7 separate regions of the Homo sapiens genome follow, and regions 2, 3, 4, 5, 6 and 7 are each linked to region 1. The links are contacts of gene promoters, found by promoter capture Hi-C in blood cells and fetal thymus (Javierre and others, 2016). All regions are on one chromosome and are shown on one strand. Each heading gives the region's core, a stretch centred on a gene start or on the middle of the fragment in contact. The rest is flanking DNA. Distances are from core to core; before and after follow the strand shown.

Region 1 (4,351 bases), core at 981-3,480:
CTACCTCCTCTTTGTGTTTTTTTTGTTTTTATTTTGTTTTGAAAAGATGCAGTCTTGGTGTGTCGCCCAGGCTAGAGTGCATGGAGTGCAGTGACGTGATCTCAGCTCACTGCAACCTCCACCTCCTGGATTCAACCGATTATGCTCCCTCAGCGTCCCAAGTAGCTGAGACTACAGGCATGCACCACCAAGCCCAGCTAATTTTTGTATTTTCAGTAGGGATGGAGTTTCACCATGTTGGCCAGGCTGGTCTCAAACTCCAGACCTGGAGTGATCCGCCCGCCTCGGCCTCCTAGAATGTTGGGATTACAGGTGTGAGCCACCGCCTGGCCGCTACCTCCTCTTTTTTTTTCTTTTCTTTTTTTTTTTTGAGACGGAGTCTTGCTCTGTCTCCCAGGCTGGAGTGCGGTGTGGCACCATCTCAGCTCACTGCAACCTCCGCCTCCCGGGTTCAAGCAATTCTCCTGCCTCAGCCTCCTGCGTAGCTGGGATTACAGGCACGCTCCACCACACCTGGCTAATTTTTGTATTTTTAGTAGGGACGGGGTTTCACCACGTCGGTCAGGCTGGTCTCGAACTCCTGACCTCGTGATTCGCCCGCCTCAGCCTCCCAAAATGTTGGGATTACAGGTGTGAGCCACCGCGCCCGGCCGCTACCTCCTTTTTGAGCCCAACTAAAGAAACATCAAGGATTGATACCCTCCCAGTTGAAGAGAAAGTGACAACTTTAACCCAAATCTCACCTTCCTCTTACTTTCTCTTTCCCATTTTCCAGCTGCCAAACTAAGGGCAGCTGCTGTCAGTTTTTGTAAATAAAGTTTCCAGGGCTGGGATTAGAGCGAGAGAAGAGAGGCAGGATTGTGAAAGGTCAGGAGTGGATACTCAATCAAAATTTTTTATATTTTGTTCATTACGGATTTTTTAAATTAATTTTGATTTTTAAAAATATTGCACTAAAATGTTTATGTTGATTATTGAGGTTTTTTTATTTTGTGAACCCATAAAATTTGCAACTGACAGTACCCTGTCCAGGTCCAGTAAAAATACCTAGGAGTCTACAAAAATCTACCCACGACTCACTGGACCTCAGGTACATATCCCCCCCCGCCCCCATGAAGTCTCCATAAAGTGTCCCAGTGAGTTTTAATGTTCTCTCCTGTCTTTCCATGCACGTGTATTAAGATGCATTGCCTTCTGATTAGTGTTTTCCACTTCGAACAGCGGGAATGCCTCGACCACGCCTGTCTTCAAATTTCTGCTCTAGTTAAGAAACGATCTCAGGCCGGGCACGGTGGCTCACGCCTGCAATCCCAGCACTTTGGGAGGCTGACGCGGGCGGATCACCTGAGGTCAGGAGTTCGAAAAGAGCCTGACCAACATGGTAAAACCCCGTCTCTACTAAAAATACAAAATCAGCCGGGTGTGGTGGCGTATGCCTGTAATCCCAGCTACTTGGGAGGCTGAGAAGGGAGAATCACTTGAACCTGGGAGGCAGAGGTTGCAGTGAGCCGAGATCGTCTCAAGAAAAAAAAAAAAAAGAAAAAAAAGAAACGATCTCTTCCCTTCTCAAAGTTATATACATTTCACTATTCGCCAACCACCTCCTCCACGCCGTCCAGAGCTGAGCTGACACGCAGCGAAGTCCTCTCAGTGGTCCCTCCGCACCTCAGCCCTGTGCTTGGCAGCGAGACGAGTGACAGGGCCGCCCCAGCATGGGTCTCCCGGGCCGCGGACCCGCCCCACGCCGTATCCAGCACGCTGTCCTCCCGCCCCATCTTTGTGCCGGCCATCGTGTGGTCGCGTCTGCGCGCTCCGCCCGGTCTGCCGGCGTGAGAAAGAGCTCGTGTCGTTCCCAAGTTCAGACCAGAGGGGACGGCGAAGCGCGAAAAAGTTCCCTGCGCCCAGTACGCAGGCGCAGCCGTGCTCCTGGGCTTCCCGGGCCTCGTCCCAGCTGGCGCGCCCGGCGCTCCTCCGCCAGCGGGCAGTTGGGGGCGCTGCAGGGAGGGCACCCGAGCGGGTTGGGGGCGCTCGGAAGGGTGGCTTGCAAGGTCCGGGTAGCTGCAGTCCCCGGAGTGGGGCGGAGAGGCGCGGCACCGCGCGGACGAGGATGGGGCGGGGGCGGGCGCAGCCCGAGGGTGCAGGCACGATAAGGCGGGTGACAGCCAGCGGGGAGGGGCGGGCGCCACCGCGTCCACGCCCTTTGCTCGGGGCCGGGCCGGGAGGGTCCTCGGGCTTTGCGCGCGCCTGGCCGGCGGGCTGAGGCGTACGGGTCGCACGCAGCGCCATGCGAGGCCCCCCTGCCTGGCCGCTGCGGCTGCTCGAGCCACCGAGCCCTGCCGAGCCAGGTCGGCTCCTGCCGGTAGCCTGCGTGTGGGCCGCGGCCAGCCGCGTTCCCGGGTCCCTATCGCCGTTCACTGGCCTGAGGCCGGCGCGGCTATGGGGCGCGGGGCCCGCGCTGCTCTGGGGCGTTGGAGCCGCGCGCCGCTGGAGGAGCGGCTGCCGGGGCGGGGGTCCGGGCGCCTCGCGGGGCGTCCTGGGCCTCGCGCGGCTCCTGGGGCTGTGGGCTCGCGGCCCCGGCAGCTGCAGGTGCGGGGCTTTTGCCGGGCCAGGCGCTCCTCGGCTCCCGCGCGCCCGGTTCCCGGGCGGTCCCGCAGCCGCTGCCTGGGCAGGGGACGAGGCCTGGCGGCGCGGGCCGGCGGCGCCTCCCGGGGACAAGGGGCGGCTGCGCCCCGCAGCGGCCGGACTCCCGGAGGCCCGGAAGCTCCTGGGGCTGGCGTACCCTGAGCGCCGGAGGCTGGCAGGTAGGGTCCTCCCCGGCCACTTCCCTCCGCCGGGCCTCTCCTTCTCCACACGCGGGGTCCCGGGGCGCCGAGAGGGACACGGCCGGGCCGCAGAGCGCGTGTCACCGCCGCCTCTCCTGGGCCACTCCTAACCCCGGAGGAGGGAGGGGATCGCTCACCTCAGAGTAGCGTTGTCAAGATTTCGCCTTAGCTGGGGACTCGTTTGCAGATTTTACACTTGTTTTCTTGTTGACACACGTTATATATGTCATTATTGGAATCTTTGGGTCTGTTCCACCACCAACTTAGTGGGAGCATCTGTTTTGGCTTAGGCAGCAAAATGAGCTGGAGGTTTTTCCTTGGAAAAAAAAATTCTAGCCAAAAATATGCCTATTTTGTTATTAGGCGTTTATACTTTTTTTTTTTAACCAAAAACACATTATTTGCTTCAAGCGAGTCTGTCAAGCAGTCACCAATGCTTTCACAGCGGAAAGCAAAACTTTCAGACTTGTCTCTTGTGCAGGAAGTTACAGCACTGTGTTCAACAGGCCACACCAGTGATCTGTTCAGTAATTGAGTAACTTTTTTAAAAGAAGCCAAAATGAATGTTTTTAGAAACAAAATTTAAATAGGACAGTTTTCTATAGCTCCTCATTTTTTAGCCATAATTGGAGGAGTGTTTAGATGCAAGGGCCTTGTAAGATCTAAAATTTTTTCGATTTCTCTAAATCTTCACTCCTTCTATAAACATCTGTTGAGCCCTCATTCTGGACTGGGCCCTGGGTTTACAGTGGCATGCACAAGGAAACATGGTCCTCACTTCTGCTGGGGCTTCTAGGTTAGTGGGGAGAAGCATCTATGAAATATTCGTATGTATAGAGGTAAACCTGCACCTGTGGGCTGTGGAAGGGGGCCTGTGGGGCCTGTGAGGTTGTCAGGTGCAACACCAGAAAAGCATTCTTTGCTGCAAATCCATTGCTTTAGAAAGGACCCTCCTGGGTAGTGATTTGGGATTTAGAGTAGGTTTGCACAGTGGAGGAGAGCAGTTAGGGTGGCGACTTTTCATCTACCAGTTGCTATGAAAGCTTAGGGGGCTGTTGATATCACTCGGGTGTAAAGAGAATTATTTCATTGTTCAGTTGGTTGAGTGTAGATTTTGTTGTAAAATATCTTTTTCTCTTTCCTCTTTTTAAAAACATTGGAGACTAGGAGCTCTCACTGGACTTTGAGCTGCTTGAGACGGGGACTGTGCGATTCATCTTTCTGTCTCTAGTTCTTAGCATGTGCACGGCACAGAGCAGGCGCTCAGAGTGCCTTCAGTGAAGGAATAAATGACCATACCACCAGGCACAGAGTGAGGCCTTTAGAAACCCTGAGCATCATCGGGTGCGCCCACCACTTCTGTATGTGACTCAAAGTAAGTGTAAGGAAATCCAGTTCTGTTTTGTTTCTGAAATACTAGATGTCAGGAAGGGTGTTTAGGTGTCAGGCTTTGGTGGCCTACACGTGCCCAGTCCTCTTATGCCATGACCATTGTTCCTGTGACCCCTCACTCTGTCCCCAGATATCCT
Region 2 (4,351 bases), core at 1,009-3,508, 890 kb after region 1:
GACCCTGGGTCAGCCACCTGAGTTACATTCCACAAAACTAGGTGGGGAAATCTCTGGGAGGGCTTTTCTAGTCTCGTTACATTCCATGAGGGAATTGCTGTAACATTTTACAGGAAATGCTGGATATTTATCCAAAAGCACAATAAATTTTGCTCCAGCCTACTTTTTCTCTGGTTTTAGTCCTACTTAGTACCCAAGTAGCCTGAGTCTTGTGGAATGGGGACTTTCAAGTCTTCAGTCACAGGGGTGCACATTCCCTGCTGGCTTCCAAACAGGGGCTGCCACACCACCCTGAGCAAGAATACTCTTACACTGGAGGCTAGGAAGGATAGGAAGGGAGGGATAGGGAGAGATTTGTTAAAGGATACAAAAAAACAGATAGGTAAGGGGAATTAGTTCTAGTGTTCTATATCACTGTAGGATGACTATAGTTAACAATAATATATTATATAGTTTCAAACAGTGAGAAAGAGGATATTGAATGTTCCCAACACAAAGAAATGATAAACCTTTGAAATGATGAATACACTGATTACCATGATCTGATCACCAGATATTATTTGTATCAAAACATCACTAGGTACCTCATGACTATGTACAACAACTATTTGTCAATTAGGAAAAAATAAAATAAATTTTTAACAAAGAATGCTCTTAGACCAGGCACGGTGGCTCACACCTGTAATCCTAGCACTTGGAAAGGCTAAGGTGGATGGATCACTTGAAGTCAGGAGTTCGATACCAGACTGGCCAACATGGTGAAACCCTGTTTCTACTAAAAATACAAAAAAATTAGCCAGGCATGGTGGTGCACGCCTGCAATCCTAGCTACTTGGGAGGCTCAGGTGGGGGGATCACTTGAACCCGGGAGGCAGAGGTTGCAGTGAGCCGAGATCACACCACTGCACTCCAGCCTTGGTGAGAGCAAGGTTCTGTCAAAAAAAAAAGAACACTTCTAGATGCTGGGGTGAAGAAGGCTTTTGTCCATCTTGTGTTAATTATGACCTTTTTATTCTGTATTTTTGATGCTTTGACATCTTGGGGCCTTGCTGACCCTGGAGGGACTGCTTTCTCCCAGGGTAGAAGGTATTACTATTTGAACCACTAGACTGAGTCAAAATGATCTGTCCTCACCAATGTGGATAGGCATTATTCTTCCAATTCCTTGAAGGTCTCAACAGAACAAAAAGACAGGGGAAGGACAAATTTGCTCTTTATTCTGGAGCTAGGACATCCAACTTCTGCTCTCTGACATCAGAACTGCAGGTTCTCAATCCTGGGACTCTGGGACTCATATTAGTGTTCCCCATCCCACTCTACTCAAAGATATATTACTGTCCCCACTCCACTCAAAGATATATTACTGTTCCCCACTCCACTCTACCAAAGATACCTGATTTGAGTCACTCAGAAGACTAGGTAGGGGTTTATTGAGGGAGCTGGCAACCCATCCCCGACATGTGTGACCCAGCCAGAACCAGAGCAGTAGGAGCCTCACTGCCTTCACCCTAGTGCTGCCACGTAGAGCAGCTAGAGCCTCTCCTGTGGACTCAAGCCTGACAGTGGGAGTTCCCTTGGGAAGGTAGGATCACCTTCACCTCTTTATCTTGGTTTCTTTATCGGTACAATGGAAATGGTAATAATAGTACCTAAATCTTGGGGTTATCATAAAGATTAAAGTAATTAAAGCATGTGAAGTGCTTAGACCATGCCTAGTGCATAGCAGGCACTTTATAATCATTTACTTCAATAAAAACATAGGTCCTGGAGCCAAAGGCTTGACCTTAATTGATATGTGAACCAGGTAAAAGTCACTTAGCCATTCTGAGTTTCAGTTTTCTTATTTGTAAAATGAAAATAAAATAGTACCTATCTTGAAGGGTTTTCATGAAGATTAAATAAGCTAATAGGAAGAAATCACCATAACAGCCTGGCACCACAAATGTTAGTTAATAAAGCTTGGCAAGCCGGGCACGGTGGCTCACACCTGTAATCCCAGCACTTTGGGAGGCCGAGGCGGATGGATCACCTGAGGTCGGTGGATCACCTGAGGTCAGGATTTCGAGACCAAAATGGCCAACATGGTGAAACCCCATCTCTACCAAAATACAAAAAATTAGCCGGTCATGGTGGCAGGCGCCTGTAAACCCAGCTACTCGGGAGGCTGAAGCAGAAGAATTGCTTGAACCTGGGAGACGGAGGTTGCAATGAGCTGAGATTGCGCCATTGCACTCCAGCCTGGGCAACAAGGACAAACCTCTGTCTCAAAATCAATCAATCTTGGCAATGAACACGGGTTCCTCCTGGCAAAGGTTTTGGCTCTGTGGGGTAATGCTGCCCTCTGCCGGACAATTTGGTTTCTTGCTTTGTTTGTTTTAATAAACTGTTGGGTTTTTTCCCAAAGTCCCACCCCACCTAGCAAAAAGGTTAACATTCTTCATAAAGATTATTTTCTCAGAATACGTTTCTGAGAAAATGAGTACAAACATGATTTGTTGATTCGCTATCCGCAAATGGCTTTCCTCATTTGAGGAACAAATGAGCCACTTGGAAGCTTACTTGGGCTGCAATTTTATTTCCAATTTTATCTTTATGAAGAAATCCAGGCCGAGCGCAGCGGCTCACACCTGTAATCCCAACACTTTGGGAGGCCGAGGAGGGCCGATGCCCAGGAGTTCGAGACCAGCCTGGGAAATATGGAGAAACCTCGCCTCTACAAAAACTACAAAAAATTAGCCGAGCCTGGTGGCACACATCTGTAGTCCCAGCTACTCGGTAGGCTGAAGTGGGAGATCACGCGAGCCCGAGAGGTCAAGACTGCAGTGAGCCGTGATAGTGCCACTGCTCTCCAGCCTGGGCGACAGAAGATAAGAAAAGAAGAGAAGGGAAGAGAAAAAAAGGAGAGGGGAGAGGAGGGGAGGGGAGGGGAGGGGAGGGAAGGGGAGGGGAGGGGAGGGGAGAAGAAAAAGAAATCCAGCTATGTTGGCCGGGCGTGGCGGCTCGCGCCTGTAATCCCAGCACTTTGAGAGGCCAAGGCGGGTGGATCACTTGAGGTCAGGAGTTCGGGACCAGCCTGGCCAACATGGTGAAGCCCCGTCTCTACTAAAAATACAAAAATTAGCCAGGTATGGTGTCGCGCGCGCGTAATCCCAGCTACGTGGGAGGCTGAGGCAGGAGAATCGCTTGATCTCGGGAGGCGGAGGTTGCAGTGAGTTGAGATCATGCCACTGCACCCCAGCCTGGGGGACAGAGTGAAATTCCGTCTCAAAAAAAAAAAAAAAAAAAAAAAAAGAAAAGAAAAGAAAAGAAAAGAAAAACAGAAAAGAAAAATAAAAATAAAGAAAAATAATGTCAGCTATGTGTTGAGATATTGCTGCTTAATTTTTTTTAACTTTTCTTTTTTCTTCTTAAACTCAATAGTAAGAATATGCTTAACTTTTCCGATTTTCCTTATTATTGCTTTCCTATGAGTTGAGAATATTGTGATAAGTGCCTAGTCTGGTAATTTGCACACACATTGTATTCTCTTGTTACAGTTACAGTGTGATAAAATAAATAAATGAAAAGTCATAGCATGGCAAAAAGTATAGCACTTGAAACACTGTAGTGTGCTAGTTGCCTCACTGTGGTTTGTGATGTGTCTAAAGCAAGGGGAAATAATGAGAACACCACACAAGGTCTCTGTCCAGACTATTCAACTCTGATCTTTGAATCACAAAAGCAGCCGTAAGATACATAAATGAATGAGTGCAACTGCGCTGTCATAAAACTTTATTCATAACTGTTGAAATTTGAATTTCACATAATTTTCAAATACTACAAAATATCATTCTTTTTATTTTTCTCAATTGTTCACAAAAGTTAAAACCATATACAAAAACAGGCAGCTGACAATTTGGGCACAGAATCTGTAGTTGTGGACCTCTGGTCTAGAGTCATCCACCAAGAGCAGCCAGATCCCGAGGGGACAGAATGGTGATTTAAACAGAAATATCATGGGGACACTATTGCTGCATTCTTTAGACCCTTGAGGGTGTCACTTATCTCTGCCATTCCCCTTGATGCAGCATTTTGTCTTGTTCTCTCTTGACTAGGGATATAGTTTTTTTAATGTGCAGAACATGCAGATTGGTTATATAGGTATACATGTGCCATGTTGGTTTGCTGCATCCATTAGCTCGTCATTTACATTAGGTATTTCTCCTAATGCTATCCCTCCCCCAGCCCCCCACCCTACAACAGGACCCAGTGTGTGGTGTTCCCTGCCCTGTGTCCAACTGTTCTCATTGTTCAGTTCCCACCTATGAGTGAGAACATGCAGTGTTTGGTTTTCTGTCCTCGTGATAGTTTG
Region 3 (4,351 bases), core at 503-3,002, 820 kb after region 1:
CTAGTGTGTTTTGAGAACATGTGCAAACACAGGCTGCCCGCATTGTCCTGTTTAAGAAATGAGGGCACTCCTTATCTCTATGTCAGGTCAAAAGGAGGATTAAAAAAGAAAAAAGAAAGCCATGGCCCCCTTTCCACTGGGATCCGGGGACTCGGGGAGTGTGGAGAGGCCTGCAGCAGGACATGTTGTGGAGGTTTCTATTTTAATTAAGCAGTCAGTTTTGTCTCTTTCTACACAACTTTCTAATTGTTTCTAAATATTTATACTAGTCAGCTGCAGGGGTGGGGTGGGGGGAGGGGAAGAAACAATACCCTGCGGTGGGAACCCACCAGTACAGCACCCATTTCTCTAAGGTACCTTTGGGATGAAAGGAAGGTCAGAGAAGCAATTTTTTTTTAAAGAAGCAAGACAGTTAAGTGTTTCATACTAGTTTCTGTGAATTTTAACTTTTTCTTAAATTTCAAAAAGACCTGAATAGCAAGATAGAGAATTCCTTTCTCTTTGTATCTACCAAGGGAAATGGCATCGCACCCGGTACATAGGAGCTTTAAGTAGCTTAAAGGGATCCTGAAAAGATACCAACAATCAGAATCCGAGCCCATGTGGGCAGGGAAGGTGGTGGGGCTCAGAAGAAAGAAATGGTGTTTACTCTTCAGGTTTCATCCAAACCTAAGCCTTCACGAGGGCCGCTCGCGCTTTTTCACTAAATCAAGTGTTTTCCCGGCGTCTCCGCGGCTCTTTAAAGCGGAGACGCCCCTTGTGAGCTGAGCCGCCTAAAAGCAAAGGAGCGACGCTCAGGTAAAGGCACCTGCGCGTCACCTTCTGATTGAAACTCTGCAGCGGCGCCAGCGACGTCGCCCTCAGGAAACTTTGCTCTATGCAACAAACTGACCGGGCACCCTGAACTCAACCTGTTTCACTCCTACTTATCTGTTGCTTAAATTGTGAGATTTTTTTTTTTTTTTTTTTTGGCAAGGCTCTGACTGCCGCTCCGCCCTCCTCTCTCCAAGCCCACTCCGCCGTGGTCCTTTCGTGTTAGCTCCGCGCTTGCCCGGTCCCTGAGACTCAGGAAACGTCCTGCACTCCTCATTTGTCCGGCTTCCCAGCTGGAGCCGCGCCCGGGGCCCTGCAGCCCCCTTGGGAACCTCGCGACCCTCGCGCCACCTTCCTTCCCCTGGGTGGACCGCGGCCACGCGCCCCCGGCCCCGGCCCCCCGGCCAGCTCACCGGAGAAGTTGTCGAAGGCAGTAGGGATGTACTCGGTGGGGTAGCCGTTGGTGGTGTAGCTCACCACCAGGCTCGTCTTGCCCACCGCGCCGTCGCCGACCAGCACGCACTTGACGCCGCGCCCCTCGGCACCCCCCGCACGCCCCCGGCCCCCCGGCTCCCCAGGCCCGCGTCCCCCGCGTCCACCGCGCTCCCGACGCGGCGGCACCGGAGGCGCCTCGCAGCGGTCGGGGAACGCGGGGTCCCCCTGCTGCGGGGGCATCGATCCGCGAGCGCGGGCTTGCGGTCGCGGGCTAGCAGGGCCCGGCCCGACCGCCCCTCCGCCCCGGAGGGTTGCGGTAGGGAGGAGCTGTCACCGACAGCTGCGGGCGCGTCCCCGGCCCTGGAGAGTGGCGGTTCCGGGCCGCACGGCCAGTAGACAAAGGCGGCCAGGGAGGGTCGTGGCTCCGCGCTCCGGCGGCGCCAGCCGCTCTGCCCTGCGCTGTTGGAGGACAGCGGTCCGAGCGCCGTGGATCCCAAGCGCTCTGTCTCCGCCCGGCTTCCCGGCGACACGACGCGTGGGGGGCGGGCAGGCGGGCGGGCTGGCGGGGAGGGAAAAGAGGCGGGTCTGGCCGAGCGGCTCGGTCCCCGCGCCAAGACCACAGCGCCCCCCGCCTGCGCGCCGCGCGCCTGCACCCGCGCCCGAGGCGCCGCCGCGACCAGGCGGGGACTGCGAACACTGGCGCGGGAGGACCTGGAACACACGTTCCGGGGGACCCCGCGCACCCGGTCCGGGAAGCGACGCCCGAAGGAGCCGGGCCAGCCTCCGCAGCCTCCTCCCCAGCTCCCAAGAGGGTGACCACCGCGCGACTGGCCCGGGAGGTTCCGCTTTCTGGCGCCCACGCGAGCCAGGAAGCCTGAGCCGCCTCCTATTCACTCCGTGGAGCCCCCGGCTGGCCACGGCTCCACCCAGGGGGAAAAATGAAGTGTCCTGGAGGCCTGTCCTGCGAATGAGATTGAATTAACAGACAGCTTTTTTCCTTAAGTCTAACTGCAGCTGATCGTGTGATTTTTTCTCATTTTGAAGCAAAAGGATGCCAGCTCCATTGTGAATGCTCCTTTGACTTTGTCTTTCGGCATGCCGTGAACCTTTATACATGTATGCTCCAGAAATTTTTTTATACCCCCAATTCCTTCATTTACTTAAAGGTAATTCGGAGACATTAATATGTCTGAAAAAATATTCCGTTTCCCTTTGATTCATTTCTCTCTCTGCCTTCCTTCTACATGTGGTCAACAGTCTATTCAGAAAAAGGACGCCTCTTAGCCAAGTCAGAATACCAAGAGTCCTGGGGGTGTACAGCGTGGTGTGAGAAGGGCCACATATTATTAATACACATTGATACTAGTGGTAGTAAAAATAACAATAACAAATACTGAACTTTCATAATGTGTCAGATACTGTTGTAAGCACTCTTCAAGAACTAATTCTTTTAATCTTAACATTACTTACAGATGAGAACACCTGAGGCACAGAGATATTAAGTAACGTTTTGGGATTCCACAAGCTAGTAAGTGGCAATGCCAGGATCCAAACCCAAATAGTCTAGCCCCAGAGCCTGAGCTTCTAACCAAAATCCTGGAGGCAAAAATAAGTCAGTATGATAAACGTAATCTTGAACGTATGGCCATGGTCAGAATGCAGAGATGGATTTATCAAGAAGTTAGAAGCTTGAATCCAGGACCCCTGACTTGCAAAGGACACTTTCACATTGGAAGACCTAGCAATGTGTACACGTGGTAATATGTTTCTGTAAATTTTGAAAAAAAAAAAAGTATTTTAATCACCACCAGTTATGTTCACTGTCTTTTTAAACTGTAACTTACCCTCATATTGAGTGACTTTGAAGAGGCCATGAAGATTTTGGGGATCAGCCAAAGAAAGTGAAGTTGGGGAGACCCAAACAGGTTGTTTGGGTGTAATGGGATACAGAATCAGGATGAAGGTGAGATAAGGGGGATGTCAAGGATGCAAAATTTATGACAAATTGAGCATTCAGAGGCAATATCAAAAAACAACAAATTTAGAGGGCCCTTACTCTCAGGGTCAGGCAAGTGCCAATGTTAAGTTTTGAGCCTCAGGTACCTGACTTGCCTCTCCCTCGCCCTGGCTGTGATGACAGGATATATTTATGTGGTTTACAGTTCTCCTATGTAGATATGTTGTTGCTAGCCATCCAGGTATAGGAATGGCTACCACTGACATACCTATGACCCTCTGTGAGAGTCACATTGGTGCCCTTAACTGTCTTACTTTCCCCAACACTAGAAGGGTTCCAGTAGCAAGAGTAGCAGAGCTTGAGATGGGCAGAGCTGGAAGCTAGTCTGGCAATTCTTTCCATCATAAAGCACCTAATATCGGCTGGTGCGGTGGCTCACGCCTGTAATCCCAACACTTTGGGGGGCTGAAGCAGTCAGACCGGTTGAGGCCACGAGTTCGAGACCAGCTTGGCCAACATGGCGAAACCCTGTCTCTACCAAAAATAAAAAAATTAGCCAGGTGTGGTGACTCACACCTGTAATCCAAATACTCCAGAGGCTGAGGTAGGAGGATCACTTGAGCCTGGGAAGTCGAGGCTCCAGTGAGCCCTTGATCAACCAATATACTCTAGCCTGGGCGAGAGTGAGACACTGTCTCAAAAAGAAACAAACAGAAGAAAACACAACATTGTTAGAGAAGGTTTGGTTCTCTCTACTAAACCTGATCAAAACAGAAGTTGTCTGCTGTCAGAAATGTACCTGTACTCTAAATGCAGCAGATACACTTACAAATGCATCATACATTTTTGGAGAAAAATCACATGAAATGAATGATCTGAATTCCCATGTTTGTAAGGACATGAGGCTGTAGTAGTACAACAAAAAGCAAGTTCACCTGTGTGTGAAGTAACTTCCTATTGTTCTTATAGAAAATATCTTACAAAACTGAAGAAGTGATCAAAGGGTATGCAACTGAAAAATGAAAATAATGTCATAGAAGTGTGTCAAGCAGTTTATTAAAATGTCATGTCTTATGTATTTTGTTTAAGTTTATGGTGTTTGTTAGCCTTTTAAAATTTGTAACTTATTGTGATGCATTTCTCACT
Region 4 (4,351 bases), core at 489-2,988, 760 kb before region 1:
GATGAGCACTTACACCCACGTTCTCAAGGGCAGATTCTCTCATGACATCCGTGGAGCTTGCGAGGCAGCGTGGACTGGTGACTGTGAAGGAAGGCCCCCGTGGTAGAATGAGCTGGAGCACGCTCTAAGAGAGATGCCTGCTTCCTAAAGATCTACAGCAATCTGGGACGTGGTTCAAGTTCAAGACTTGAAGGAAGCAAAGACGCCCTGCATGGTTACAATGGCTCAGGTGTCAGGGGAGGCCGGAGGGTTTTCCAGCATTTGCCTCATGCCAGCACCTTTGAACCGGTCTCTTAGAAGAAGACACACATCCTGGGTGTACAGTGGTGAAATGGGGAGTGGGTGCCCATTCTGAAAAACGAGGCATTCCTGCTCATTCCCTCTGCTTAGCTGGTGGGCAGGGGAGAGAGGGAAATGCCAAAAACTTGGAGTGAAGGATGATGCTATTTTTTATTTTTAAATATATCTTCAGGTTATTTTCTTACTGTTGCTTCAGATCTAATGTAAAAGGCAGATGTCCCCTCCTCTCCACCCCCGACGCTGACCCCGGCCTCAGTCACGGCTCTTTGCATGATCACAGTTCTGTGTTCTGGCCTGTGGCAGGGCCGGGAAGGGCCGCTGGCTTCCGAACAGACGTGGTTGCTCTCCACGAGGCGCATGGGGAGCCCGCGGGCCCTAAGCTTTGTCGCAGATGTCATCATTGGCAGAATTACTTGTCTTGAAAAATAAGTAGCATTGCTGAAACACACAACCGAATTCTCTACGATGGCCATTTGCTCATTGTCTTTCCTCTGTGTGTAGTGAGTGACCCTGGCAGTGTTTGCCTGCTCAGAGTGGCCCCTCAGAACAACAGGGCTGGCCTTGGAAAAACCCCAAAACAGGACTGTGGTGACAACTCTGGTCAGGTGTGATTTGACATGAGGGCCGGAGGCGGTTGCTGACGGCAGGACTGGAGAGGCTGCGTGCCCGGCACTGGCAGCGAGGCTCGTGTGTCCCCCAGGCAGATCTGGGCACTTTCCCAACCCAGGTTTATGCGTCTCCAGGGAAGCCTCGGTGCCAGAGTGGTGGGCAGATCTGACCATCCCCACAGACCAGAAACAAGGAATTTCTGGGATTACCCAGTCCCCCTTCAACCCAGTTGATGTAACCACCTCATTTTTTACAAATACAGAATCTATTCTACTCAGGCTATGGGCCTCGTCCTCACTCAGTTATTGCGAGTGTTGCTGTCCGCATGCTCCGGGCCCCACGTGGCTCCTGTGCTCTAGATCATGGTGACTCCCCCGCCCTGTGGTTGGAATCGATGCCACGGATTGCAGGCCAAATTTCAGATCGTGTTTCCAAACACCCTTGCTGTGCCCTTTAATGGGATTGAAAGCACTTTTACCACATGGAGAAATATATTTTTAATTTGTGATGCTTTTCTACAAGGTCCACTATTTCTGAGTTTAATGTGTTTCCAACACTTAAGGAGACTCTAATGAAAGCTGATGAATTTTCTTTTCTGTCCAAACAAGTAAAATAAAAATAAAAGTCTATTTAGATGTTGATTCTCCGTTAATACGTGAATTCGTTTAAAAGGTCAGGGAACAGGCGGGGTGCGGTGGCTCATGCCTGTAATCCCAGCACTTTTGGAGGCTGAAGCGGGCGGATCGCTTGAGTCCAGGAGTTTGAGACCAGCATTGGCAACATGGCGAAAGCCCATTTCTACAAAAAATACAAGAATTAGGTGTGGTGGCACATGCCTGCAGTCCCAGCTACTTGGGAGGCTGAGGTGGGAGGATCTCTTGAGCCACTGCACTCCAGCCTGGGTGACAGAGCCAGACCCTGTATCAAGAAAAAAAACAAGGTGAAGGAACAAAAATACAGGCTACTCTTTTAAATACTTGATTTTTTTTGTTATATAATCTGGTGTGTATGATATTAACTGTTCTTGGTGTCTCAAACCACTGAGCAGTTTAAAAAAGAAATGTTTTTGAGTTTGGCTAATAGAAATACCTCTTGATGTTGCAGTTGTATGAGTGCAGTTGTATTTGAGGTGCCTGTTTCATTGAAGACACTAGCAGGCCTGCCTTCCGGCCTGGTGGTTTTCCCTCTTTTCTTCTAGTTTGTGTCGTGTGTCATTCCAGATGAGCAGGAAGAGGTGCTGTTCTGACAGGCAGTGGGTGGCTGCATTCCCCAGTCATGAGAGAATAATTGTAACATTGTAACACTCTGTTTCTAAAATGGCAGCCACCTGTTGTCTGATACATGATGGGAAAAGGCAGCTGTTGAGCCGGGTCTAGGGGAGGCTTCAGTGGCCACTTCAGGTCTCTGGAGGAATGCTGTTGACTGAGAAGAGTTTCTCTTCTCCATCCAGAAGGACAGAATAGCATGTAGGACGGACTGACAGAACCTCCAGGGACCTGGACCTTGCCTTAGAGATGTGATTCAAAGTGGCTTTTTGGAGTGACTCTAGTTGAAGTGCATCTGGTTCCAGTATCTCCCTGGGTTCAACAGCCCTCAGGTTGATTCTTGATTGGCTTTGGAGTAGCTGGCCATCCCTGGGGATGAGGAAAGAGCATCGTAAGTGGTCTTATGACAGAGGGAGCCAGCATGGCCCTGGCTGAGTATATGGGGCTGGCAAGCACCACTGCACACATGGCAAGTGAGAGCCCATTCCACTCAGATCCAGCCACTAAGCCAAGCCGATCCCCTGAGGGATGTCTCTGCTGCAGGCTCTGGAAAAAAAAGATGGAGCAATGAGCTTCCCAGCCTTATGCAAAACAAAACACCCACAAAAACTTCCAAGCTTCTCCAAAGAGAATCTGCATTTCCCTGCAACTCACAGGGAATTGAACCTGCACTGAGCTTCACGGAGTTTATGAGACCTTCCCATTACTGCAGTTGTGTTGAGCGTCCCGTGAGGTCCTTCTTAGGCAAATTTAACTTCATTGAGTGAATGTCTGTTTCTGTTTGGTGCCTACTTGATCAGGTTCCATATTCGACTTTCATTGTCTTTCCCCACACTCTGCTCCCTAAAGAGCCTCGATTTTGGCCAGGTGCGGTGGCTCACACCTGTAATCCCAGCACTTTGGGAGGCCGAGGCAGGCGGATCACAAGGCCAGGAGATTGAGACCAGCCTGGCCAATATGGTGAAACCCCATCTCTACTAAAAATACAAAAATTAGCTGGGTGTGGTGGTGGACACCTGTAGTCCCAGCTACTCGGGAGGCTAAGCAGGAGAATATCTTGAATCCGGGAAGCAGAGGCTGCAGTGAGCCAAGATCGCACCACTGCACTCCAGCCTGGGTGACAGAGCGAGACTCCAACCCCCACCCCGCCACAAAAAAAAAAAAAAAAAAAAAGCCTCGAGTTTGAACAACGTCTTCCCGTGGTCCATGGGACATTATACTAGGGACATCTTTCAAAAGTCAGGCAAGTCATATGGAAAAGTCTTGGTGGCTGGGTCATTCTGAGCAAACACATCCAGTACTGACTAAATCAGATGAGGCTTGGTCACCAAAATTGAGTTAACTCTGCTGCGTGCAAGAAGCAAGAAGATTGCAGGTCCCCAGGACAGAGCCTGGAAGGTTCTGAATCCTTCCTGTGTGGCCCGTGTGTCACCATCCTCCCCAGGGACCCAGGCTCAGCCCCCCCAACAGTGAGGGGGGGTCACCAAGCATCAGGCTGAGAGGAAGCAGGGCAAACCCGGGAGGGCCATGGGGCCTTGCAACTACGCAAGCCTCACACATTCTCCTCCAGTCTGCATTCATGGCAAAAAAAAAACATTTCCCCACTTGCCTGGGATTGGGGCGAGAACAAGTCAACGACACTGATGGGGGAGAAAGGTGACCTTGGGTGTGGTACCTCCCAGATCTGTCTCCTGCATCCTCGCAGGTGCTGTGTTTGAAAGGTATGACAGCGGTGGCTAACAGGCAGGCACACTTCCAGGCGGCTTGGGGTGGCCCTTCTGCCCCAGAGCCTTACTCCTCACAGGGATCCCTGTGGGTTAGGCATGGACTGTCACCACGCCCAGATGGAGTGGTGCAATGGTTCGCCCAGGTAAGCAGACCCGGGTTTGCCTGACGCAGGAGGCCGCGTCCTAACTGCTGTGGGCACTGGCTGTCCTGATTCATCACGAGGACGGGGGATTTTATCCCTGACTTACCTGACAACTTTGTGGGGGATTTTCTCCTTTCCATATCCAATCCTCTCTGCTGATCCGAATACTGAAAACAATCATTATGAGATCCGGGACATCACCCTCCCCCTGGGTCCTTTTCTTGTCCTAGATGGAGATGGGTGTTTTGGAGCTTAACAACTACTGAAGCTGAAGTTAGCCTGGTAGGGAGCCACTATTCTGGGGGGC
Region 5 (4,351 bases), core at 927-3,426, 730 kb before region 1:
GAAGCACAAGTGTCATACAAAGAACAGGGCTTTGAAGTTTGAGAGCTGGGTTCAAATTCCTGTTCTGACATGACTCACATATGCCTTAAGCTTTCTAAGTCCTACTTGGTCCGTCTGTTGAAAGGTGGAAGTGAGCCCTGAATGAGAAGCTGGCATCATTTCTGGAGCATGGCAGGTGCCCAGTGAACATTAGCTCTCATCTTCTAAGCTCCCAGCACAAGCATGGCCCCCCAGCTGATGCCAGAACACATGTTGGGAGTGTCGGAAGGAGGACCCAGGTGAGGGGAGCATGTCATGGGATGGGACCTTAGAAGCCCTGTCCAGTGCTGAAAGCTGACCATATGGACACACAAGTGTGTACCCTGTGCCGTGAGGTTTGGAGCTGGCAGGAGGTGCAGCTGAGCCATGCATGTGGCGTGTGGGAATTGCGAGGGCTCTGGGCTTGTATGAGTCAGCTTGGAGCTGCCAGAACAAAACAGTGCAGGCTCGGGGGGGCTTGCACAACGCACAGCCCCGGATGCCGGAAGTCCAGGATCAAGGTGTCTGCAGGGTTGGTTGCTCCTGAAGCCTCTCCATGGCGTGGGACGGCTGTCTTCTCCCTGCGTCCACACGTGGCCGCCCCTTTGTGTGGGTCTGTGTCATCATCTCTTATAAGCACAGCAGTCAGACTGGATCAGGGCCATCCTCATGACCTGCCCACCTCCCTAAGACCCCACCTCCTAATATCATTGCCTTGGGGGTTAGGATTTCAATCTATGAATTTTGGGGTGGAGGCACACAGACATTGACATCTCCTGAATTGGCCTCTGGTTGGCCCCTTGTGTGATGAAATGGGTGCCGCAGTGAAGCTCATGAGCAGGGCTGGTCCTGGTTGGTGTGCAGTTACCTGCGGGCCAAATTCTACATCTTCAGCTCTACAATCGTGGGTTTCTCTCAAACATATGAAGTGCAGACAGCCTCAAAATCCCCAGTGCAGGGGGCTGGGGGAGTGGGAGGGAAACAGTGGCTACCCATGCCACCCCTTAGCTCGGCCCTCTGCCCCGGAGCCAGAAGTTTCCGGAGAGTTCTCTGTCCCCTCGCTGTCCCATCAGCCTCAGCTTCTCAGGTCCGTCCCAGACATCCCCACCTGAACCAGTGGCCACACACCCTGTCCTCCCCTGCTCCAGCCCCGTGTTCCTCACATGAGGAGGATGCTCCTCACCTGCTGGCATCGGACCAACTTCCTTGTTGCCAAAAATCCAGGTACCTCTTCCCAGAGCTCACTGTGCTCTGGCTCGGGCCGTGGGGCAGCCTCGTTTGTCCCGCACCTTCCTTCCTTTCCTTCCAGCTGCCTCTGCCCAGCCAGCAGTGTCTTGCTCGGTCCTTTCCAGCCTGTGTGTGGATCTGTGTTTCCAGGCCCCTGTCCTCCCTCTCTCTGCCGTCCCCCTCTCTGGTGGTCTCTGACGTCACTTCTAGGCTGTAAAAATGCAGGGCTGACACCTCCACCCTTATTTCCCGGGTCCCCGTGCCATCCCACATTCCCTGAAGACTTGGCAGATGTGGAAATCCCATTGGCTCCCCTGCTCCAGTCCCTTTCCTTCTGGACGGCCCACAGACCTGCCGGGAAAGCTGGGGAGGCTCATGGGCCGGGGCTGCAGCTCTGGGCTGGCCTAGATCAGAGCGCAAATTAAAAAAAATTTTTTTTGAGACAGGGTCTTGCTCCAGGCTGGAGTACAGTGGTGCAATTATGGCTCACTGCAGCCTCAAACTCCTGGGCTCAAGCCATCCCGAGTAGCCCAACCACAGGGGTGCATCACCATGCCCAGCTTATTATTATTATTATTTTGTAGAGATGGGAGTCTCACTATGTTGCCCAGGCTGGTCTCAGACTCCTGGACTCAAGCAATCCTCCTGCCTTGGCCTCCTCAAGTGCTGGGATTGCAGGTGGAGCCACTGCATGGCCAGGAGGCACTTTTCGTGCTTCCTCTCTGATCTTGACAATGATTTTCCAGGGTGAACAGAAGGGTTCCCATTTCACAGAGCAGGCTCAGTGACATCCCATGGTGACACAGGTGGTGGGTGGCAGGATGCAGCGGTGGAGCCCATCTCTCCCACCCCTGAGTCTCCTGACTCCTCCCCTCCAGCCCTCATGAGCCGGCGGGCGGAGGCGACTCCAGCTTTCCCTGTTAGCAACGGGAGTCACTGCCCCTCCCCTGGCTACGACCAAAGGCCCATTTCACTTCCCATCACCTCCTGTCCCCGTGTCCCCACCGGACCAGGAAGAGGACAGTCACAGCCTGGGTGCTTAACTTGGCACTGTGTGGGTAAATTAGGCAAATGACTTAGCTGATCAGAGCCTCAGTTTCCCCAGGGGTAAAATGGGGTAACGTCTTTGTGTAGAGATGAGAGGTTATTTGAAGGGTGGGACACCCATTCCAGGGCCTGAGAAGCCGCACCCAGTGCCACCTCCTCTGTTCGCCCCTCTTCCTTTCCCTCAAGTGTTTCTTTTCACTCCTGGACTTCACTCCTGTGTGGCACCCGACAGTGGTGGCTATGCATTTACATGCTCTGTCCCAGGATGGGCTCCTTCCCATCCTACCCGCCCTCCTGCCGCAGACCTGGCAGGCCCAGATGAGGCATCAGGCAGCACCCACTCTGCATATCCTGAGCTGGAGTCCAGGCCAAGCAGTCTCCGAATGACAGTTTCGTGGCTGAGGCCACGCAGCGGCGCAGAAACGCCTCCGTCTTTCCACCTCAAGAGGCACTTTGTGAAGGTCCTTGCATTCAGTACTCTGGCTCCTTGCTTGCCGAGCAGTCTTCTGCCCACTTCCTTCCCATGCGGCTTCAATAGGGAGAGAAGCTGACCAGCAAAATCCCACGCCCCTTGGCCCACGTGTCACAGATCAATGGGTGGGCACTGTGAGGACAGCGTGGCTTCCCTAGAGCCTGAGTGGCTCAGCCTCACCCATCTGCCAGGGTACCCTCCAGCTGTGATTTCTCAATATAAATGCAAATCAGGTGACCGACTGTGAGTCTCTTGGCTCCAGCAGCGCCTGTCCTCAAGGGCGGTCTGTTCCCGTTTTTGCTCTTGGAATCAGGATTAGAGCTCTGGGCAGCTGCCTGGGCGCTGGAGAACACCCCTTTGACCCTGCAGCAGGGAGATGACAAAGTCACGGAGGCTCCAGGACAGTGGGGACCATGCATCTCACCGACATGGAGATGCTTAGAATTTAGGGGGTCCAGCAACTTAGATGGGAAAAATGATATTGTTATTTTCACAACCTCCAACTGAAATGGAACACTCTACAACGAATGTCGACAACAAAATAGGAACTTTGTCACTAATTAAAAAATCACAGATATTTTCATCACATTAATTATTGTAGCTTTTTCAAAACATTGTTTATGCTCATCACTACTTTAAATTATGGCAGCAATTAGACAGGAAGACTTGTTATTTAATGCATTAAGAAGCACATATTAGGAAAATATTTTGATAACTGTGTCTTGGCATAATTAGACTTCTTTATAATCCCATGTAATCAATGTGTTTTATTCATTTGAACACCTTCTGAGAGGAGGCCCTGAGTTGATGGCTCACGCCAAAGGAGTCCATGGCATCAACAGGGTGAAGGGGCTCAACAGGGTCTGCGACTGCCTCTCTTAGGATGAAGGAATCCTGAGACCACGCTGCCACCCCTGTCCATCTGCTGCTGCCAGAATTCTTCCAGTGATGGCAAGTGTGGTGGGCACTGGGCTGCTCAATGAGTAGTCATCCCTTCCCTGTCCTCCTTGCCAGCAAAACCCACTTCCATGACATGGGAGGAGGTGGGAGGTGACTGCTTCCCGGCTTCCCAAGGACCCGGCTCTGGGCAGTGCGACCCGGGAAGACTAAGAGGTGGGGAGTCTAAGGGGTGGGGAGTCTAAGAGGTGGGGAGACTAAGGGGTGGGGAGACTAAGGGGTGGGGTGGTCACTGGCAAAGGTGCATCTTCCCTAAGTCAAAAAACAAAGATGCACAGGAGGCAGCACGCTCCAGGTCTGTTCAGTGATAAATGTTAGACGTTTGTCCACTTCAAGTCTCATGTTGAACTCTGACCCTCAATGTTGGAGGTGAGGCGTGGTGGAAGTGTTTGGACTGTGGGGGTGGGTTCCTCCTGAATGGCTTGGTGCCATTATCACAGGAGTGAGTGAGAACTGATTGTTGAAAAGAGCCTGGCTCCTCCCGCCCCCCTCGCCATGCCATGCCTGCTCCCCTCTGCCTTCCACCACCAGTGGAAGCTTCCTGAGGCCTCCCCAGAAGCAGACGCTGGAGCCATGCTCCTCGTACGACCTGCAGAACCATGAGCCAAATAACCTACCGTTTCCAATATT
Region 6 (4,351 bases), core at 1,132-3,631, 680 kb before region 1:
CAATAACAAGTGGTATAACATATGTGCAACTGAAGTTCAAGAATGAGTCAGAAAAAAATACATGAAGAAATAAAAGGCCAGTCATTTCCCAAACTTGGTGGAAAACATCATCTTACATATTCAATTTACATCAGCAAACTTGAAGCAGGATAAATATAAAGAAAACTAAATCTAGGCACATCATAATCAAATTGTTAAAAAAAAAAAACAGATATAGAGACAAAAAGCAGCCAGAGGAAATGACCCATAACATACAAAGGAACAACAGTATGAATTTTCTGAGACAGAGTCTCACCCTGTCACTCAAGCTGGAGTGCAGTGGCACAATATTGGCTCACTGCAACCTCCGCCTCCCATGTTCAAGCGAGTCTTCTGCCTCAGTCTCCCGAGTAGCTGGGACTACAGGCGCATGCCACCATGCCCGGCTAATTTTCGTATTTTTAGTAAAGACGGGGTTTCACCATGTTGGCCAGGCTGGTCTCAAACTCCTGACCTCGTGATCCGCCCACCTCGGCCTCCCAAAGTGCTGGGATTACAGGCGTGAGCCACTGTGCCCTGCCTGGAGTGAAACCTTTAAAGTGCTGAAAGAAAAATTAATTGTCAACTCAGATTCCACTGAAAGAAAATAGCCTCCAATAACAAAGGAGAAAAAAATTCTTCAGATAAAACCTGAGATTGTGCTGCCTATGAGAAAAAATTCTAAAGAAAATTATTCGGGCTAAATAAAAACTCCAATCTATGGAAAGAAACAAAGATACTACAAATGGAAAATATGAGGATAAGCTTAACATATCCACATATTCTTCTCTTTATTTAATAGATACTGACTATTTGAAGTAAAAATGTAACAGTGTATTGTGGGGTTTAAGATGTATGTAGAAGAAAAGCATGATAACGATAGTACATAGGAAGGGAAATGGAAATGCAATTTAACTATTGTAAAATTCTTAAATTTAAAGTGGTATGATGTTGACTCTTAAGCAGACTGTTGTAAGTTAGAGCTGTATGTTGTAATTCTCAGGGCAACTGTGCATACATGAAAAGTATTGCTGAAAAGCTACAAGAATAATTCAAATGGAATACTAAAAAAATCACTGAATCCAAAAGAAGGCAAGAAAGCAGGAACACAGTTACAAAAAGCAAAATGCACATGGTACAAATAGAGAAGAAACAGCCGAAGAGCAGACCCAAACCTAGTCACACCAATGATTACGCCACATGTAAATGAACTACCCTCAATCTGGGTGGGCACAATCTAATCAGCTGCCAGCACGGCCAGAATAAAAGCAGACAGAAGGATGTAGAGAGACTGGACTGGCTTGGTCTCCCCCGGCCTACATCTTTCTTCCACGCTGGATGCTTCCTGCCCTTGAACATTGGACTCCAAGTTCTTCAGCTTTGGGACTATTGGACATTCAACCACTGACTGAAGGCTGAACTGTCAGCTTCCCCACTTTTGAGGTTTTGGGACTTGGACTGGCTTCCCTGCTCCTCGGCTGCAGATGGCCTATTGTGGGGCTTCACCTTGTGATTGTGTGAGTCAATATTCCTTAATAAACTCCTGTTTATATATACATCTATCCTATTAGTTCTGTCCTTTTGGAGAATCCTAATACAAAAGCCAAATATTGGTTCTTTTAAAAAATGAACAGCGTCGATGAACAGCAGACAGATAAAGAAAATAAGAAGATATAAATTACCAAAATCAATAAAATAGTAATACTAATCCGACAAACAGTAAAAAAAGAGACAATATCATAAGCAACTTTGAGCCAATAAATATAAAAACGTTGATAAAATACAAAATTTCTTGAAACAGACACAAAAAGAAACAGCAGATCTGAATACGCCTATATCCATTAAAGAGATTGAATTAGTTATCAAAAATCTTTCCATAAAGAAAATTCTTGGTCCAGACTGGCTAATTCTATTAAACATTTAAAAAAGAAATAATTAAAATATTATACAAACTCTTTTAGAAAATAAAATAGAAGGGCACACTTTCCATCTTGTTTTATAAGGCTAGTAAACCATAATGCCAAAACTGGAAAAATACATTTTAAGAAAATTACAGACCAATGTTTCCCATGAACACAGGTATAAAAATCCTTAACAAAAATATATTAAAAGGATACTGTATCATGACCAACTGGGGCTTATGCTAGGAATGCAAAGCTGGTTTAACATCTGAAAATCAACCAATGTATTTCACCATATTAACAGATTAAAAAAAGAAATACCACTTGACTATCTCCACAAATGCAGAGAAAAAGATTTATCTCATTATTAACATGGTTTTGGTCCTACTATTGTCATTAAATAGCTGTAAGGGCCTTGAGAAAGCCACCTAGCCTCTTTAGATTTAGTATTTCCATCTGTAAAATGAAAGTACTAGGCTCTCAACTTCCACTGTACATCGGCATCATTTTAGCAGCTTTTAAAAATGCAGCTGCCCACACCCCACCCAGAGAAATCCAGAAATTTCTATTTAATTGTGAATGAGGGCAAGACATGGTCCTAAATTCCCTAGGTGCTTCTAATAAATTGCTAGGTTAAGAATCAATGCACAATAAAATCCACAGAAGAATGATCCTAAGACTGCTTTCACTACCATAATATTTTAGGCAATTAATTTACTTTGTCATCTAGTAGCATCACTACAAGCACTTTGTGTGTATGCTTACATAGATGGGATCTTATACACACACATGGGTACATATATACATGAGTGTGTGTGCAAGTGTGCACATATTTTCTCATTCAATTGTTACAGACTTCAGCTGTTCCATATAGGCTTTCCATAATCTGGCTTCTCCCAACCCACCCTTCTCATGCCTTCCCCGAAACAACGTATCAGCACGGGTTCAACCGAAATGAACATTCTAGCGGAAAGTTAATACTGAGAAGCATTGTTCTGATTTCTAAGCAGTTTAAAGACAAAGACACTGTTAGATAAGGCTCATAAGTGATTTACAGTGCCAACACTATCTCTCTTTCCTCCTTCCCCACTTCTCTTTTTTTTTTTTTTTAAAGCCTGTGCCAGGTGATGGGGTAGGATGGCAGATACTTTGGGTTTAAATTCATAAAGTTATTTTGAAGGTGTTTAGGGGGCAGCAAATTGCCCCCTTTTTGGTTTATTCCAGGCTTGGTGGACTGATGTGAGTCTGGCAAACAGCTTGTTTAGAAGGCAAGGCTTATCCCACTGTTTATGTATCTTGAATGTCTAGGTTGATGACCCTAGTTGGTTAAAATATGATGCTGTTCTAACAGGCTCAATCACTGTGTTGGCCAATAAGATTCCTGGTAAGAAAAACTTCACTCCTTGACTCCAGCTGGAGTGCATATGTAATGAGAAGAAAGAGTTTTACACTGATGAAGGAATACAATCACCACCCCTGGATCAACAGTCAGACTTAAATAGCAAATGTGGCATGGGTTCCAAAGCTCTGTGATTTTCCTATACTGAAAGATTTCTCCCAACCATGGAGGAGCCTAACAATTCAGTCTTCAGGGTCTCTAACAGCACTGACACACTGGATGTTAATTACATTGTGATTGGAGCTTCCTTCCCAGACACTCCAGTGTACTACTTTCCTCCTTTACAGCCTCTCTTCTAACTGCCAATAAAAGAGTCCTCATGAGCTCAGCTCCAGCACAGATAAGACTGACAGAAGGTTCCGAGGTTGGCATTTGCAAAATCGCATGAGCATATAATTGCAGTACTGTCTCCCCATTTTGGATGGTTCACCTTCAGCAGGCTGTCAAACTTGAATCCCGGTTATTTTATCAGATGCCTGGAGCATGGAGTCATTCAACTTCTTATTGCTAAATCTTTGTTTTTCTTCTAAACTTTTGTATTCAAGGGACTGATAAGACTTCCTAGGTTGTGAAAGAAAGAAGCCAATTTTCTAAATACATAAATGAAAATGTAATTTGATCCTGCTCTAATATACTAATAATTTCAATTAGTCAAGCTTTTAATGTCTTTCCTGTGTTTGCTGGGAGAAGTCTCCCAAGCGGCTCTGGTAGAGGGAGACAGAAAAAAGCTAGACAATTAATTGCTCTTTGAGCTAAAGCACTTCTTTATGTTATTACAGGAAAAGTCAGAATTCAACTGTCTTGGCGCTGAATTAAGAAGAATCTTACCTTCTCGTCGATCATTTCTAAGAACTCGCACTTTCTCAATTTTCCCCAAGAGAGCCCCGTCCTCAGCTAGGAAAAGAAAAGAAGCAGAGCATTTTGAACCTGGAGTTCATAAAGGGCTTTGCATTCAACCATAGTATTCTCAATCATCTAAGGGCCGATTATCTCCTTGGGGCATCACAGAGGCACCTCTTCTTTCTGTGGATCT
Region 7 (4,351 bases), core at 1,378-3,877, 660 kb before region 1:
TTCAAAACTAAACAGAACCAAATCCTAAGACATTAAAAAACCTCTGCAGGACCTCTGTGAAATCAAGCTTCTTAAAAATCTGGTCAACAGGAGATTTGAATTAGCTCAATTAATAACTTTAGGTTTGTCTCACTTCGAAATTATTCGTCTAAAATAGCTTTCTTGAATACCGCAGGCTTCTGCATTCTGCAACGTATAGGAGTCGGAAGCATGTTCTAAAACAAAATGTTTATCCTCCCTGTGACACAGGAAACTCAAGCCTATCGTATTTACTGTACTCCCTTTGAAGTCCTCTAATCTCATTGAAAAGCCAAGGGTTCCAGAGGCAAAAAACATGCACACACACTCAGGCCAAGCGGAGAATCCAAAAACACACTCTTCGCTCACCAAACACTCCACGCTTCGGCACCGGCCACAGAAAATGCTGCCCAGAATACGTGAGTATTCTCCAACAGAAGGGGAAAAACATTAGGTTTCCCCTTGAAGCTTTCAGCAAGCCACTGTTTGATGGAATAAAAATGTTTTTTCATTCAAAGAGCACCATTTGCCCTTTAGTGCCTCCAGTTTTACAGACACTACATTTTAGCTGAAAACTTTTCAAGAGTCAAGAGCTATTGAAAGTTGAGAAAATAACAGCCCTGGATGAAGCCGTCTGAACTCTCTCGTCATGCCCTCCGAGGGCTGCACTTCAGCTGCCAGGTCCCACTCACCATTTAAGGCTAGAGTCATTTCAGAGAGACTAAATTATTATTGTCCTTTAAACTTTCATTCCTCCCGATGCCAGGGGACAAGCTGCCTTTTCTGGATGGAAGCTCACACTGCTCATCAGACAATGTGAACACTGCACATTCCATTTCTTCCCTCTTGCTACTCCCCTGGGACAAGTGGCACCCTTGGTCCTGCTAGAGTAACTCCAGTAACTCCCTCTGCCTCCTGGTGCCCACCATCGTCCTCTTGGATACGTGAGTTCTGGTTTCCAAGCTGAGGGTTTAGTTTTTACTTCCATTGTTCCATGAAGAGATGTGCTTTCATTTTTATCTGCTCTGCCTGTCTCAAAGTGGTGAATCCTTTAGAGCACCCTTCTTAGAGGTTATTCAGGCAGTTGGTTTTCTTTCCTACCCTACTCTTGCAGTTCTCCCCACAAAAGCTGGGCCAGATAATGGAGTCTGTGGGACCCCTGAGCAGTTCTGATTGTCCCAAGTGGACAGGAGAAAAGCTTAAGTTCTGTGGAGGGTGACATTTTAGGACACCACTCTTTTCAGATACACTGAATTGCTCTGTTTTGGCCTGTGGTTAAAAAGACGAACTTTTCGGCTAGGCACAGTGGCTCACGCCTACAATCCCAGCACTTTGGGAGGCCGAGGCAGGAGGATCACCTGAGGTCAGGAGTTCAAGACCAGCCTGGCCAATATGGCGAAACCCTGTCTCTACTAAAAATACAAAAATTTACCCGGTGTGATGGCGGGTGCCTGTAGTCCCAGCTACTCGGGAGGCTGAGGCAGGAGAGAATCGCTTGAACCTGGGAGGCGGAGGCTGCAGTAAGCCGAGATCACACCACTGTACTCCAGCCTGGGTGACAGAGTAAGACTCCATCTCAAAAAAAGTAAATGAATAAAATTAAAAAAAAAATGGCTAAGAGTCTATTAAACTTTAGACCATCAGGTTGGCTTAAAAATCAAAATATATGTGTTACAAAAGATAAACCTAAGACAAAATGGCATCCAAAAAAGAAAAAAAATCAGTAAGATACAAAAATGTATCAAGAGTAAGTGAAATAAAGTAGGAGATTAACATTTATGCAAAGCAAAATGTATGGCAAAAAAGGAAAACTTGTTCAAGGACAGCCTGGGCAACACAGTGAGAGCCCATCTCTATTAAAAAAAAAAAAAAAGAAAAGAAAAACAAATAAAGTGGGGTAATTTTATGTCAATAAGGGTATAATCCATGAATATATATCTTCTAAGCCCCTCATGCTTAGAAATAAGCAGAAACTCCTAGCACTGTAATGTTGAGTTTCAAATGCTTTTATCAATAACAAAGGTTTTGAATGTAATCGATCAGGTTGGTTGAACATGTATATTTGAATTTGGAAATGAGTATAGATGTTACTAGCTTTTAAAAAATACCCATCAAATATTCATAGAAATGAGAAGTAAAGATTGCAGCCTCTGGGGGCAGGCTGTTGTTTAGACCTCACCACAGCCTGGTTAATGGGGCAAGTTCTGTTTCTCTAACTATCAAATCTTAGTAACAATAACAACAGTACCTATGCCTCATAGGGTTGCTGTGAGAATTAAATGAGTAATGTGTGTAAATTGCTTAGCATAGCACCTGGAACGAAAATCTCAATTAAAGGTAGCTACATCTCATGCCCAAAGTAAAACCCTCCATATATGCAAAATAGTAAAATTATAAAGTTGTAATGTCTGACTCCACAGCAATAAAGTCAGGAGAAAAAAATCTCCAATGACCTAAGTTTAAAAAGATAAAAAGAAAAAAAAATCAGTTTCTTACGATTTTGAAACTCTTTCCTAAATAAGCAACGTACCAAAAAAGAAACCAAAAACAGAATTCCAGAGTGGTGAGAAATAATAATAGCGGTCATTTACAAGTAGGTTTAAAAATAACCAAAATTATCACACTATATTTCGTATTATGAGACTCAGCCAAAGCTGCACTCAGAAACCAATTAAGTAGACATAAAGTAAACATTCAACATTCAACTCTCATGGGGCAGGGGGAGTGCAGAGGAAAGCAGAGGCAACAGGCAGACATGAATGCATTAAAGAGAAAAGCAGGGAGGCCGAGGCGGGCGGATCACGAGGTCAGGAGATCGAGACCATTCTGGCTAACATGGTGAAACCCCGTCTCTACTAAAAATACAAAAAATTAGCCGGGCGTGGTGGTGGACGCCTGTAGTCCCAGCTACTCAGGAGGCTGAGACAGGAGAATGGCGTGAACCCGGCAGGCAGAGCTTGCAGTGAGCTGAGATCGCACCACTGCACTCCAGCCTGGGTGACAGAGCAAGACTCTGTCTCAAAAAAAAAAAAAGAGAAAAGCAGTGAAATGTATATAAAATCCCAGCACTTGATGTCAAGGATGAAAAGAAGACAGAAGTAAGGAGGAGAAACCAGAGACACATCACTGGCATTTTTAAAGAAGAAAAAAATGAAAAGTTTATAATTAATAAAGATTTAAGTGCATATACATATAACACTATGCCAATAAATTTGAAAATCCAAGGGAAATTTATTCTTCTGGGAAGATATAAATCAAATTAATTCAAGTAAAGCATAGAAAAACTGAACACATGTCAATATTCATGGAAGAATTTTAAAAGGTTATCAAAGGATTACTGTAATGAAAATAAAAATAGCTCTAAGTTTAGATGACTTTGAAAGGTGAGCTCCAAGAAACAAATAACTCCTTTACAAATCAGTTTTTCTGAAGCATCTAAAGAAATTTAGGAATTTGTTCTAAATTCATTTTACAAAGTTAACATAATCTTGAAGCCAAAGCTAGATGAAGGAAGGAAGACGGGAGAGAGGAGGAAAAGAAGGCAGGCAGGCTGGCTGGCCACAGACACTTTCAGCTATGAATCTTCATTCAAAACCTAAAATAAAGCAGTAGCCAAACTCAGCAATATATTGAGTAAATTCTGGTACATTTTCAGAACCAAATAACACACTGTCATCTCAAATAGCATCTCCTTTTAAATGAGTAAGCAAGGAGGTTATTCGAAAATATTCATCCCAACGTTAGCATTAAAAAGGAAAAGAATCTAGCAGTCCATTACCAGAGAGCTAGCTAAATAAACATAAAATGGGATATATACAGCTTTTATAAGGGAAAGTTATATATTTAACAGTCCTAGAAAATATTTCCTATGTATTACTGAATGAAAAAAAAGTAGGCAGGCAAACAGCAAATACAGTGTCATTTTACTGTCATTGTATTTATAGAAAATGACATACATCGAACATCAGAGGGTATGAGACAAATTAGGAAGGATGTTCACCAGAGACAATGTGAAGCTTTCAGACTTTTCTTCCTGTGTGCAACAAACACGTATCTACTTTTAAAAAGCTTTTTCTTTAAAGAAAAAACCAGTTTTGAGTAATTCGGTGTATTTAAAGAAAGGAGAACTTGGGGAGTTCATGATACAAGCTTGCTAACAGCCCACTGCGTAGACCATTAGTATCTAGGTGAAACACAGACCAATTCAGAGATTTTAGCTAATATTTGGCCAAGATAAGGTTTGCCAACAATAGAAGGCAGATCATTAGCATCACCGTCACATCATACCATGATTTCCTTAGGGCGGGTCTGATTAAGCCCAAGAATGGACCAA

What was found. The method cuts DNA at HindIII sites, captures the fragments that hold promoters and counts their contacts. A CHiCAGO score of 5 or more calls a contact.
Region 2: a contact is called between a fragment that was not itself captured here and the fragment with the promoter of ABCB10 in region 1, in 4 of 17 cell types (fetal thymus, naive CD8 T cells, non-activated CD4 T cells and 1 more). The highest score is 9.1, in fetal thymus.
Region 3: a contact is called between the fragment with the promoter of RHOU here and the fragment with the promoter of ABCB10 in region 1, in 13 of 17 cell types (fetal thymus, total CD4 T cells, neutrophils and 10 more). The highest score is 18.5, in fetal thymus.
Region 4: a contact is called between a fragment that was not itself captured here and the fragment with the promoter of ABCB10 in region 1, in 3 of 17 cell types (naive B cells, endothelial precursors and fetal thymus). The highest score is 5.9, in naive B cells.
Region 5: a contact is called between a fragment that was not itself captured here and the fragment with the promoter of ABCB10 in region 1, in 5 of 17 cell types (fetal thymus, endothelial precursors, megakaryocytes and 2 more). The highest score is 7.3, in fetal thymus.
Region 6: a fragment that was not itself captured here is called in contact with the fragment with the promoter of ABCB10 in region 1 in 4 of 17 cell types (M2 macrophages, megakaryocytes, endothelial precursors and 1 more); the score reaches 7.4 in M2 macrophages.
Region 7: a contact is called between a fragment that was not itself captured here and the fragment with the promoter of ABCB10 in region 1, in 1 of 17 cell types (endothelial precursors). The highest score is 5.5, in endothelial precursors.

Annotation. Positions count from the first base shown.
Region 1 is chr1:229,556,586-229,560,936 of GRCh38, reverse strand. It overlaps ABCB10 (ATP binding cassette subfamily B member 10), which reads left to right and starts at 2,230. Exons shown (of 13, transcript NM_012089.3): 1 at 2,230-2,801. The coding sequence starts at 2,285. RefSeq lists an enhancer at 1,451-1,640 and silencers at 1,811-2,510, 2,571-3,020. The HindIII fragment of the contact is 4,467 bases long and covers 1-3,867 here.
Region 2 is chr1:228,662,566-228,666,916 of GRCh38, reverse strand. It overlaps a transcript of RHOU not described here. Among named protein-coding and RNA genes, the nearest start is that of RHOU, 71 kb to the left of the region's middle. The HindIII fragment of the contact is 596 bases long and covers 1,961-2,556 here.
Region 3 is chr1:228,732,880-228,737,230 of GRCh38, reverse strand. RHOU (ras homolog family member U) reads right to left here and starts at 1,752. Exons shown (of 3, transcript NM_021205.6): 1 at 1,227-1,752. The coding sequence starts at 1,488. The HindIII fragment of the contact is 4,915 bases long and covers 1-2,938 here.
Region 4 is chr1:230,318,845-230,323,195 of GRCh38, reverse strand. It overlaps PGBD5 (piggyBac transposable element derived 5), which reads left to right. Exons shown (of 7, transcript NM_001258311.2): 7 at 1-4,351. Among named protein-coding and RNA genes, the nearest start is that of PGBD5, 110 kb to the left of the region's middle. The HindIII fragment of the contact is 2,111 bases long and covers 683-2,793 here.
Region 5 is chr1:230,284,914-230,289,264 of GRCh38, reverse strand. No RefSeq gene overlaps it. Among named protein-coding and RNA genes, the nearest start is that of PGBD5, 140 kb to the left of the region's middle. RefSeq lists enhancers at 633-1,132, 2,317-2,816. The HindIII fragment of the contact is 4,168 bases long and covers 93-4,260 here.
Region 6 is chr1:230,236,521-230,240,871 of GRCh38, reverse strand. It overlaps GALNT2 (polypeptide N-acetylgalactosaminyltransferase 2), which reads right to left. Exons shown (of 16, transcript NM_004481.5): 6 at 4,147-4,212. Among named protein-coding and RNA genes, the nearest start is that of GALNT2, 170 kb to the right of the region's middle. The HindIII fragment of the contact is 3,191 bases long and covers 786-3,976 here.
Region 7 is chr1:230,220,732-230,225,082 of GRCh38, reverse strand. All of the region lies in intron 3 of GALNT2 (polypeptide N-acetylgalactosaminyltransferase 2), which reads right to left. Among named protein-coding and RNA genes, the nearest start is that of GALNT2, 160 kb to the right of the region's middle. The HindIII fragment of the contact is 2,818 bases long and covers 1,219-4,036 here.